2 separate regions of the Homo sapiens genome follow, and region 1 is linked to region 2. Evidence: promoter capture Hi-C in 16 types of primary human blood cells and fetal thymus (Javierre and others, 2016). All regions are on one chromosome and are shown on one strand. The core of a region is centred on a gene start or on the middle of the fragment in contact, and the rest is flanking DNA. Distances in the headings are between cores, read along the strand shown. Region 1 overlaps SMARCAL1 (SNF2 related chromatin remodeling annealing helicase 1). Region 2 holds the start of XRCC5 (X-ray repair cross complementing 5).

Region 1 (5,939 bases), core at 3,365-5,864, 370 kb before region 2:
GAAATAATATATTTAATATATTGGGTTAAATGCATTATTAATCTTTTCTTTTTTTTTTTTGAGACGGAGTTTCGCTCTTGGCTGGAGTGCAATGTCGCAATCTGGGCTCACCACAACCTCCACCTCCCGGGTTCAAGTGATTCTCCTGCCTCAGCCTCCCAAGTAGCTGGGATTACAGGCATGCACCACCATACCAGACTAATTTTGTAATTTTAGTAGAAACGGGGTTTTTCCATGTTGGTCAGGCTGGTCCTGAACTCCCGACCTCGGGTGATCCTCCCACCTCAGCCTCCCTATATTATTAATCTTAAGTCTAAATGTTCTATTAGAAAAGTTACAATCACATATGCAGCTTGCATTACATTGCTAATGGAACACGCTGCTCTAAACCAGGGATTGGCAAACTATGGGCAGTGGACAACTTCCAGCCCACTGTCTGTTTCTGTACAGCTGGTAAACAAGGAATGGTTTTCACATTTTTAAATGGCAGAAAAAAAATAATTTGTGATACGTGAACATTAATAAAATTCAAATTTCAGTGTCCATGAAGAGTTATATTGGAAAAGAGAACCTACAACCATTGCCTCTCCCGCTGCGTAAGTTCGGCAAAGGCTCACGCTTTTGTCTTTTGTTGGATGAATGACTACCAACACCTAGGACAGTGCCTGCACAAATTAGGTGCCCTATAAATATTTGTTGAGTCACTAAATTTTAAAATTCTAGATTATGGGGACTGTGTAGGAAGGACCTCATTCTTTAGAGAACATGAATTACCCACTACTACAACTCGCTGTGTCCATCCCTAAGCCAGAAGAGCGGAGGTTAAGACCCCAAGCAAGCCCACACGTAATGACACAGGAATGGAAAGCTGATGCTCGGCCTGGTCTCCTGCTGAGCCTGGACACAGGCATAGGCACTGCTGCAATGGCAAGAGAAGCTCAAAAAGTTTTAAAACAAAATACATTATTTTATTTCAATTCCATGATTTTAAAATGCTTTTTATTTTTTTCTTTTTGCCCCTTTTACAGGGGAGACGTAAAGCTGTCCCAGTTATCAAAAAATTCAAATCTCCTTTTCTTCTGTGGACTGGCTGTCAATGAGCTTTCATCCAGGGTGTCTCCCATGTTCTGGGAACTACTTCCAGATGTTCCTGAAGCACTTCCTGGGTCAAAGGACTCTGCTGCTTCCAGGAGCTCCATATCACTTCCTTCTTTCTCAAAGGACTTCTGGAATAGGTCGTAGATCTTCTGCTGCTTTGGGTCCTTCATCAGAGAAAGAAAACAAAAGATAAAAGGAAGAGCCCAGGCTCCAACACTGACTCTCCTCCACTAGGGCTGATGAGAGAATATAAAGATGAGAGACCACACATTTCATGGTGTCAGGGAGCTACACGATGGCAAGTGTGCATCATCTCAGCAAACCATCACTAAAGCAGCCTCACTGTTTTAGTGTCTGACATCTTACCCTCTCTGTGCTCATTGAGTTAGGAAAAAGAAATGGTTGTGAGTGCAACAAAGAAGCTGCTCTCACGCTATAATTTACATTGGAAATGTTTTCTCCCTTTGAACTTTCCAAATCATTATTTCAATACTGAAATAGCACCCAAGATCTCACTTCCTCCAAAGCCTTTCTCTACTAAGGGTCAGTTAAGGTATAATTCAACTTCTAAATCTCTATTTTTAAATTTATTTTTATTTTTATAATTTTTTAAGAGATGGGATCTCACTAAATGTTGCCCAGGCTGGTCTCGAACTCCTGAGCTCAAATGATCTGCCCACCTCAGCTACCCAAAATGTTGGGATTACAGGTGTGAGCCACCATGTGCCCAGCCCCCCAACTTCCAAATCTCTGTGTTCAGCCATGGCTTATACCTAATTTTCAAAGTAGTTGAAAAAACATACACACATTTAACATATTCATAAGTAGATATGTGTACCTATTCTGATTACCTTAAATTACAAATAATCAAAATACCCACCAACTGCATCTATACATTGATGACAATGGTGTAGTGTTAAAACCATGCCCAGTGGATACAACCACAACACACGATCACTATCACCCCTCTGCCGATTTTTCCTACATCTAAATTTCCAACTTTGACCATTTTTCAATTTAGAGGTATATTTTCCATATCTCCACTGACATCCCACAGTTTCATAAAACTAAACTGGTTTAAAATCAAATGATCTTTTGGCTGGGCTCAGTGGCTCTCACCTGTAATCCCAGCACTTTAGGAGGCCGAGGCGGATGGATCGCCTGAGGTCAGGAGTTCGAGACCAGCCTGGCCAACGTGGTGAAACCCCATCTCTACTAAAAATACAAAAAATTAGCCAGACATGGTGGTGCGTGCCTGTAGTCCCAGCTATTTGGGAGGCTGAGGCACAAGAATCGCTTGAACCCACAAGGCAGAGGTTGCAGTGAGCCATCATCACGCCACTGCACTCCAGCCTGGGTGACAGAGTGAGACTCTGTCTCAAAAAAAAAATAAATACATAAAAATAAGGCTGCTGCAAGGGCTCACGCCTGTAATCCCAGCACTTTGGGAGGCCGAGGCGGGGGGATCATCTAAGCTCAGGAATTAGAGACCAGCCTGGGCAACATGGCAAAACCCCATCTCTATCAAAAATACAGAAAATTGGCCGGGTGTTGGCAGCATGCGCCTGTAGTTCCAGCTACTCGGGAGGCTGAGATGGGGGGAATCACTTGAGCCTGGGAGGCGGAGGTTGCAGTGAGCCAGCATAGTGCCACTGTACTCCAGCCTGGGTGACAGAGTGAGACCCTGTCTCTAAATAAATAAATAAATAAATAAATATAAAAAATCAAATGATCTCTCATCTCCTATATTCTCAAAGCAGCTTCTCTTCCCATAAGTCTAGTTTTTATAGTCTACCTGCATTCTCGTAGTCTCCCAGGTGGAAATCATCCAGGCAAACAGAGTCCTCGGCTTATGCAAGTTTGTTCCCCCCATTAGTTCCCTCCTCTCTCCTTCAGGCACCATCTTTACTTGGGCCACATCACTTGGTACTGCATGGATTTGCAACAGCTCAACTGCGCTTCCTGCCTCAGGCTTCTTCCCATTTCAAACAGCCTACAGATCTTTGCCAGCTGATTTTTACCCCCAGGCTCTCCTTTAAAGATTTTTTTGGTCATGTCTTTGGGCTCCGCTGTCCCTACCTCATCAAGTCTACAGTTGCTCCCCTGGCTTTTCAGGCCTTTATAGAATTAGGTCTCAACGTACCTGGCCACTGTTCCTCACTATTCCTTAACCAAATCCCTCCACATTGGTGAAGTAGAGTTCCTTGAAAATTGATCATGACAGCCTGTCATGTAAGAACTCCAGATTATTCAATTAACCTGCACCCGAAATCTCCTAGCCTTTCAGGATCCCAGCCTTGCAGAGAGGGAAATGATATGAAAGATCATCAAGGCTGACCCCCAAATAACCCACATGTCCTCCTCCAGGATGCCCTCATCAGCCTCTTTCTGAATGACTGCAATGTCAAGGAAACGCCACCCTGCAAGGCAGCCTATTCCAAGTAGAAAAAGCTGCTAATGTGCATTTGATTATGATGATGGCAACACTGTATGCTGACTCGGGGCATGCATAATTAATTGGAAGCGAGTTCCAAGATCAGATTAATATTTCATTTCCCCTCTCAGAAGGAAGGCTATCTCAGTGAGATATAACCTCTTCTGCTTTTGTCTCCTATATTGGAAGCAACATTTTCTTTTTCTAGTAGTTGATAAAATTTTCAGCCCCATCTTAATTAAAAAATAAATTGATATAGTTATTGATCAAAATATTGATAAAACTCATTTATATTACCTTGTACTTATATTTTAGGTAGAAATGCTTAACCAATTTAGAGTAAGAGAAAGGCAAGGAGGAATAAATGAGTTCAAGTGAGAATCCTTTAAAAATAGGCTTTCTTTTTTTTCTTTTTTGAGACAAGGTCTGTCTCTGTTGCCTAGGCTGAAATGCAGTGGTGTGATCTTGGCCCACTGCAACCTCTGCCTCCCAGGTTCAGGGAATCCTCCTGCCTCAGTCTCCTGAGTAGCTGGGAATACAGGCATGTGCCATCATGCCTGGCTAATTTTTGTATTTTTTGTAGAGATGGGGGTTTCACCATGTTGCCCAGGCTGGTCTCAAACTCCTGGGCTCAAGTCATCTGTCCGCCTCAGTGTGGGATTAGAGGCTTGAGCCACTATGCCTGCTCAGACTATTTCTTTTCAAAAGGCTTGTAATAACCTAGGCTCTGTTACCATTTACCATTCAGCTGAACTGGAGAGTTCTTTAAAAAGCTTAAAAATAAGGTTGTTTTAAAATTGGCTTATTAACTATATATGTCTGAAAGGATAATTTGCAGTCTGCATTTAAAAATATGATCTGAGTCTTATTTATCCCAATATTTAGCAAATAAATCCTTGCAAAGAAAGAATTTATTTGCTAAATAAATGTAAGTGAATGAGCAGATCCACAGAGTCTTAAGTCTTGGTGTCAACGATAAGATTTAACTCAACTTCTTATTTATTTAAACTTTTTTCTTTCTCTTTTTTTTTTTTTGAGGCAGGCTCTTGCTCTGTTGCCCAGTTTAGAGTACAGTGACCATCATGGCTAACTACAGCCTTGACCTCCTAGGCTCAAGTGATCCTCACCTTTTCCTCTGGAGTAGCTGGGACTACAGGTGTGCACCACCATGTGTGGCCTAACTCAATATTCTGATGGTGATTTCACAGGAAGGAGGAGGTGCTTCACTTTCCTGATAAGCTACCGTAAGGCCCCTTTCTGCATGAGGCTCAGACCTGGTTCAAACTCTCCTGGCAGAAACAATTCAACCATGAGCTGTGCTCGAGGAGGGCATACTCCTGGTTTTCACCTTCTGGCCAACAATCCAAGCTGGGGAAGGAAAACAAGCTTTTGGAAGGCTCTGGGTCTCTTGCTCACTCCACTGTGTTTCACTGAAATGGGGGAGGAAGAGTCTGTGGCAGCCACTGGGCTGCAGCACTGAAACCAGGCAGGCATGATGGGCCCAGGGCTGTCCTGTTCAGAGGCAACAGCCTTCCCCCTCAGCACCTTTGACAAGGCCTGCCTGGTCATGGAGGGATGCCTCTTATACTCCTTTACAACAAGGGCTGAGCTCAAAGGAGGAATGCTGGGCCAAGTCAGGAAGCCTTCTTCCTTGGGCTGGCTTCACATGCCCTGTGACTTTGTGCAAACCTACTATACTGCCATGTCTCAGTTTACCCCTCTATCAAGTGGGGAGACACTGAGAATAAATAAAATGACAGAAGGGAAAATATATTCTATGAAGCCAGTACCCTATTTTAAACACTCCCCATTCTGTGCTGGGGATGCATTCCTGTGGCAGCCCTATGTGTGGTGTTGCTGTGTACTTTTTGAAACAATTCAACATTTGCCATGGGGAGTTTTGTCAGTTTCTAATGGCCTGCTGGAAGAGGCAGCATTCAGAGCCTGTGCGGGAATGTCAGCAGCTGTAGGAGCTAATGCCATCATTTCCCCATAAAGCGATGCATGCATGGTTCAACTGAGAATGACTGCAGGCCATTGTTTTCAGCTCTAGGCTGGGGGAGGTCCCTAGGAGTGATTCACATCCTCCTACTCAGGACCCAAAGACTTGGCAGACAGCTTAATGCCTCCCTCTGCTCCAGGGGTGAAGAGCCATGTGCTGGCATTACCTTGTAGAGGTAATCAGTGGATTCTGTCATTTCTGAAAAATTGGTCTCAGAAAGCCCGGCTTCTGCCAGAACTTTAATCTTCTCTTGAATCAGGGGCCTGTTGGGGAGAAATGAGCTGCAGTGAATACAACCTGCACAGAACCACCAGACTAATGAAAATGAGGCCACCCTCCTTGTTCTTATGGGACAACGGCTTGTTTACGGTTTCACATCTCTGCATCTCTCAAGGTGCAAACACC
Region 2 (6,728 bases), core at 2,149-4,648:
AGAATAAACCCATGATGAGTACATATGATGCCAACCTGCAGGCCAGAGTTAAACCCATTTATGCCCAATATACATCAGACAAACTGCAGCTGACCTGCAGACCTACAAACATGAGAACAGATGCTTTCACTGTAAGTCACTGATTCGGGGCATAATTTGTTATGAAGCATTTTTGTCACAAGAAGTGACTGCTAGAATCTATATATATGCTAAGAGGTATACCCTGACAATTTGAGTCAGTTTGTAAACTGATGATCTAAAATAAAGACACCAAATCTATTCTAGTAGAGGACACAGACAGATAACAAATAATACCAGAACAATGTTCCATGATAGAAGTATGCACTGGGCACTGAGAGACACAGGAGGAGCATCCACTCAAGACTGGTGGAGGGGATACCAGAGCGGTGAAGGGGCAGAAAAGGCTTCCTGAATGTGGATTTCCTTGGGTGAGTCTTAATGAGTAGGAGTCAATCATGTGAACAAGTAAGTGACAGACGGAATCACATAAGCTAAGGCACAAGCCATTACATAGCAATCACGTATGTAGGAGACTAAGAAAATAAGAGAAACATAACCTAAAAGGAATACATGTAAAGTTATTTATACCTGGCTTCCAAATTTTACCTGAACACAAGCTGGAAGAGACCTGGATTGATGGCAACTCACAATTTCAGTGTGAATTATAAAATCAATCAACAACGTGAAATGTCTTTTGCACCACATTCCCCACACCTATCTTACTTCATCGCCTAAATATGTTGGTCTGTATCAACAGTGTAGTGAATTCAAGAAGAGAAAAGAAGGGTCTTCTGGTGAAAAAAGATAATAGCAATCGGGAGACCTGGGATCTAGTCCCATCTCTCCTACCCATTAGTTCTGAGTCCTTGGGAATGTCACTTAATCTCACTGTTAATAATACTAAAAGGTAGGAAACTGTTGGACTAGATGAGGTTTAAGGTCCTTTCTGGAGTTCACATTCCTTGACTCTGACTGATAGTCTCGCAGTGCTTTGTACCGATCAAACAAACTGTGAGCAGTTCTGGGCTAACATCTTACCAGGAAAATTAATTACAAATGAACATGAAATGAGCAGCTTAGGGAAGAATCTGAAGAATACATGATGTAAAGAACAGTTGGAAATAACTAGATATTTAAGTCAGATGAGAAGATTAAAGGGAACATAACAGTTTTCCTCCCCACCATTTTTTTTTCCTTTTTTTTGAGACATGGTCTCACTGTCACCCAGGCTGGAGTACAGTGGCATGATCATGGCTCACTACTGCCTCCATCTCCCGGGCTCAAGTGATCCCGCTACCTCAGCCTTCCAAATAGCTGGGACCACAGTTGCACCCCACCATGCCCAGCTAATTCTTAAATTTTTTTTGTAGAGTTGGGGTCTCACTGTGTTGCCCAGGCTGGTCTCAAACTCCTTGGCTTAAGCAATCCTCCCACCTCCGCCTCCCAAAGTGCTAGGATTACAGGTATAGGCCACCGTGTCTGGCCTCCCCCCAGATATTTGACAACTGTTGTATAAAAGGATTGGTCTGCCAAGAAAGACAACGGGATCAACAGATGGAAGTTACAGGGAGACTGATGCGACTCCATACGAGGGATAAAAAATAACATTTAGAAGTGATCAATAAAGAAACTACTCTTTTTTAAGTGATCTCTTGACCCTAGAAATGTTTTAAAAACCTGAATGAATTCCTATCAGGGAAGTTATAGATGATTTCTAAATGTGGTTATATCTCAGGCAACACATGAAAAGAAAAGATTATTTTTCACTAGTTTACAAACAACACAATGCACTAAGAGATTTCTGAAGTAAAATTAGATTATTTGAAAAAAAAAACGTGCTAATAAACCACAAAATTCCTTTGAGAACAGTAAAATGCACATCCCAGTTTCAATGCCTGGGGCATGATAACCTAAAAAAACTTAAGAGTCACAAAATATGCTGCTGCACTTATTTGATACACACCCACAAAAGCTACTTTTAAACCAGAAAACTCTAGAGGACTAAAGCACTTTTGTCATGAATTAGGTATCCAGTAAGTGCCATCAAAGGGTTTCAAATATGGAACTTATTGTCTGGAAGCAGAATGGTCTATATTTCTGAGTTCCTATCTGGCAGCAGTAAGAAAACTGAGAAAGAGAAACCGGGTAGCATAGCAACTCTTCATTTCTATACCGAAGCAATACAGGCTGTTAGAATTTTACTTCCAGTTCATCTGCAACAAACAGCTCCTCCACTAGAGCTACAAAGTTTTCAGCAGCTGAAAGAGGACGAAAAAAGGAGGTGAGTGGCATTATTAAAAGTTCATGATCGTTTTAATCAACATTTCTCAATGAGGAGTTGAGGGAACTAGGGATCAGTTGCTCAAACTCGTATCTTGTTTATCTGTATTGAATAAATTCATTAATCCCTGGAACCACATCTCCCTCTAGTGACCCTTCAGAGACAACTACCACTCTTTTATGTTGAAAAAAAAAAATCACTTTAAAATTCATTGTAATTTCTGTTACTGATCTGGGACACCAATGGTCATAGATTTCTAGCAACACAGGGGTTCTCCAGGGCCCTGAAACCAGACAGCTTGGATTCAAATCCGGATTTCACCAGGAAAAGCCCACAGTTCTTTATTCCTCGGTTTTCCCACTTGCAAAATGGGGATAAATAGTTTTCACTTCAAGGGGTTGTGAAGATTAAATGAGATAAGAATAAAAGGTTTAGATCCGTCCCTCACAGAGTGGGCTTTCAATAAATGCGGGATACTACGTTATTATAAAGCTAATAATACGACGCTTTACAGTTTAAGTTATTTTAGTCACAGATAGTCCCTCTCTTAAGTTTTACAACAAGCCCTGTGGGATAGTTGCTTTATCACAGCTAATTTTCATTCTCATAGAGATCTTAAGAACCCAGGCTCGGAAGTAATAGAGGAAGTGGGGCTAGGGAGTGGAATGGGATAAAGAGAGAGAGAGGGGAGGCGGGTGGGGAGGCAGGTGAGACAAAGAGCAGGTAGAGAGGGAGAAGAGGGATGGGATGGGTGGGTAATGGAAGAGGTGGAGTCAGCGAGGCTCAAATTCAGGTCTTGGAGCCCCAAATCTCCAGCTTTTCTCATAGCGCATCCCTCGGTCCCGGCCCTCCTGACTGAGCCCACCACCATGATCTTCTCTTGCCCCATTCTTTGTCTTGACCGCGATCCCACGATTCCTGCTTCCGAACCACCCTCTCCGGATCCCCAGTCCGGGTAAAGCCCAAGTCCATGGCTTTCTTTATACCTTATTCCCCGACCGCACCATGTTGCCGGTCCTCAGGCGCTTTGGTCGCTTCTTCCGGGCGGGAACCTGCCGTGTCGCAACTCGCTTCCGGTGGACAAGCGGCAGATAGCGGAAAGAGCCGCTTCGTTTCCTGCTAGGCCTGAAAGGGGCGGGGAAACCGTGCCCCGGAACTCTGAGCATGCGCAGATTCCCGCCGAGCTTGCGCAGATTCCCGCCGAGCTCGCGCAGATTCCGGCCGAGCATGCGCAGATTCTCTCCGAGCATGCGCAGATTCCCGCCGAGCATGCGCAGATTCCCGCCGAGCATGCGCACATTCTCTCCATTCCGCCGTAGTCGGGAGCGTGTGGTGTTTGAGCCGCCTGAAACGCTAGTACGACAGATTTACTTAAAGATTCACTTAATCACTTAAAGATTCACGTCCCTTTTCTCTCATTGAGAATAACACCTAAGGCATTTTGTGTCAGAGCTCTGGAGTTAGATTTCTTTTCTTTTTTTTACTTTTTTAAAAAATCTTTTTTCCTTTAATTTCATTTTTTCATTTATTTTTTATAACTTTTGATTTTTTTTTTTCTCATCACTTGTGGGTTTTTTTCTACTTTTTATTTTTGGTTATTGTGGAGTTAGATTTTCTTGAGTATGAGTATGAATGCAGAAAGTCACTTAACTTCTCTAAAAGACTCAGTTTCTTCTAAAAAGTGATAATGAAACACTTCACCGATGTGATAACCTTAGAGCCAACTGGGGAAGAAGAGTAGGACGTCCCCAGGAGCACAAAAGTAGAAGGGAGATTCTACTCTGCAGAGAAAATGGGATGCACAAACGCCTGGAGGCATGAGACTTTATCTGCTAAGGCTCTCCCAGTAGTTAGCAGTGGCTCCAGCTTGGAAGGGAGGAGTCAAGGTTTAATTTAGAAGACAAGTCTAGGGAGATATAGAAATAGCAGCTGTCATCACAGTGCTTTACTTGATCACGAGCCCTTTGTCCAGCCCGCATCCCCTACCCCTTTGAGGGAGGCAGGCCCAAGCAGTACCTTGCATAGAAATGACTGCTTTCTATACCATATGACCCCCAGCTGACAGGTGGCTGGACGAAGGGTCTGGCAACCTGCAAAGTGTCTGCAAACCTCTGCCCAAACTGAGAAAATCAAGTCCAATCAATATTCTCTCCTGCTTGAAAATTGTTTCTGGGAAAAGCAAGAATTGAAGCTGAAAAGATGTGGAGAATCTATGAGCCAAAATTATAAATACATTGAAGCCTCTAGAATGTAGAGTCAGACATATTCAGAGGTGCTCATAGAGCCCAGGAGGTTCTTCCAGCTTTTGATTCAAACTCAAGGAGTTACTTAAAAGCTGAAATATTATTTTTAATAATACTTTAAAGGAACAGCAGCGCCCTGGCCGCTCAGCTTTGCGCGGGCTGCAGCAGGCAGGCAGGCAGGCACGGACACTCGCCCTTCCCTGCGGGTAAGATTTCCAAGAGAAAGATCAGCTCGGCAGAAGGGGCGGGGAAGATCTGTGAGGTTGTCAGCTAAATCTCCTCCAGCAAAGGTGGAAACGAAGCCCAGCGGAGGCAGCAGGACAGCATAAATTTTCAGACAAAGAAGCAAACAAGGAAAAATGGGAGCAAAGGGCAAACAGGCCAAGTGGCTATCCGGGAAACAAAAGATTTATCTGTGGAAAGCGGAGAAACTGAAACAAGGAGAGTCCAGCCTCTGGTGAAGCAGGACAGAAAGAAGCCAAATCTGATTAGTATCACATACCATATCTTGTCAGTGGTCCTTGTCTCCCTTCTTGTACGATCCAGAGCTAGAGAGAGAGAGAAAAGGAAAGAAACAGACAGGGTGTCGCTCGGCCGAGGCTGGAGTCCAGTAGCACAATCATAGCTCTCTGCACCCTGGAACCCCTGGGCTCAAGCGATTCACTTACCTCAGCCTCCCAGGTAGCTGGGACCACAGGTGTGTGCCACCAAGCCCAGCTAATTTTTGTGGGGTTTCTGTGTGTGTGTGGAGGCGGGGTCTTCCTATGTTGCCCAGCCTGGTCTTGAACTCCTGGGATCAAGCGATCCTCCCGCTTCAGCCTCCCAAAGTGCTGGGATGACAGGTGTGAGCAACTGCACTTGGCCTCAGAGGAATATTTTTATCAACTATTTTGATAAGGAATATTTTTATCAACTATTTTTAAATGCAAGTTTTTTAGTAGCTGTAGAAACTTTTTTTTTTTTTTTTTTTTTTGAGACAGAGTTTCCCTCTTGTTGCCCAGGCTGGAGTGTAGTGGCGCGAATTCTGCTTACGGCAACCTCCGCCTGCCGGGTTCAAGCGATTCTCCTGCTTCAGCCTCCCAAGTAGCTGGGATTACAGGCATGTGCCACCACACCCAGCTAATTTTGTATTTTTAGTAGAGATGGGGTTTCTCCATCTTGGTCAGGCTGGTCTCGAACTCCCGACCTCAGGTAATCCGCCCACCTTGACCTCCCAAAGTACTGGGATTACAGGCGTGAGCCTGTGCCTGGCTGAAACATTTTTAGGAAGGAGGGAATCCCACTTTATCCCATTTTTAAAGTGTAGCTTTTAAAAGGTGAAATAATTCACTTGTTTGTTGTTTGGTACAACCAGGAAACACTGAAATAGTGAATAATGGGAGGCTTTCACTGTCTTCGAAGTCAGTTTAACATTCCCTAGGGAGAGGGTATTTTATTTCCTACAGTACAGCGCATACTAAATGGCAATATAGAGCCACAGTCATGCATTTAATGTGTCTTGAAAATTTTAAATTACTTTTATTTTCATGGGTTTTTTTAGTAGAATTGTTTCCTGAAGAAAACCACTCCTTGGTCACGTTGCTATCCGTGTCAAAATTGTGTGCAGTCTGTAACATCTTTGGTTGTGCTAGTCCCATTTTCCTGATAACTTTGTTAATGTGCTTTGAAAGACTGAAAATTTGAGTGGGTAGAGTATATGATATTAAATTGTGAATTGGTGGGACTTATGTAACAACTTATCAGCATGTGGAGATAATGTACCCTGATACCCTCTTTTTTTTTGAGAACAGTCTCACTCTGCGCCCAGGCTGGAGTGCAGTGGCACGATCTCGGCTCACTACAAACCTCCGCCGCTCCCACCCGCCACCAGGCTCAAGCGATTTTCCTGCGTCAGCCTACCAAGTAGCTGGGATTATAGGCACCCACCACTGTGCCGGCTAATTTTTGTATTTTTAGTAGAGACGGGATTTTGCCATGTTGGCCAGGCTGGTCTCGAACTCCTGACCTCAGGTGATCCGCCCACCTCAGCCTCCCAAAGTGCTGGGATTACAGATGTGATCCACCGCGCTCAGCCTAAAAAATATTTTTAATAAGACTGGTAAAGAGAATTACTGGAGACTCAGTACAGTGAAGGAAATTTGCATGCTTTATGTCCATGTTTTTATCTTGTATATGGTCTCTAT

What was found. The method cuts DNA at HindIII sites, captures the fragments that hold promoters and counts their contacts. A CHiCAGO score of 5 or more calls a contact.
Region 1: a fragment that was not itself captured here is called in contact with the fragment with the promoter of XRCC5 in region 2 in 7 of 17 cell types (activated CD4 T cells, total CD4 T cells, neutrophils and 4 more); the score reaches 7.6 in activated CD4 T cells.

The regions. Positions count from the first base shown.
Region 1 is chr2:216,478,061-216,483,999 of GRCh38, reverse strand. SMARCAL1 (SNF2 related chromatin remodeling annealing helicase 1) reads right to left here. Exons shown (of 18, transcript NM_014140.4): 17 at 5,701-5,797; 18 at 947-1,262. The coding sequence ends at 1,023. It overlaps RPL37A-DT (RPL37A divergent transcript), which reads left to right. Exons shown (of 4, transcript NR_183317.1): 4 at 64-543. Among named protein-coding and RNA genes, the nearest start is that of RPL37A-DT, 18 kb to the left of the region's middle. The HindIII fragment of the contact is 613 bases long and covers 4,308-4,920 here.
Region 2 is chr2:216,106,018-216,112,745 of GRCh38, reverse strand. It overlaps XRCC5 (X-ray repair cross complementing 5), which reads right to left and starts at 3,398. Exons shown (of 21, transcript NM_021141.4): 1 at 3,289-3,398. The coding sequence starts at 3,309. RefSeq lists an enhancer at 3,053-3,674. The HindIII fragment of the contact is 16,954 bases long and covers 1-6,728 here.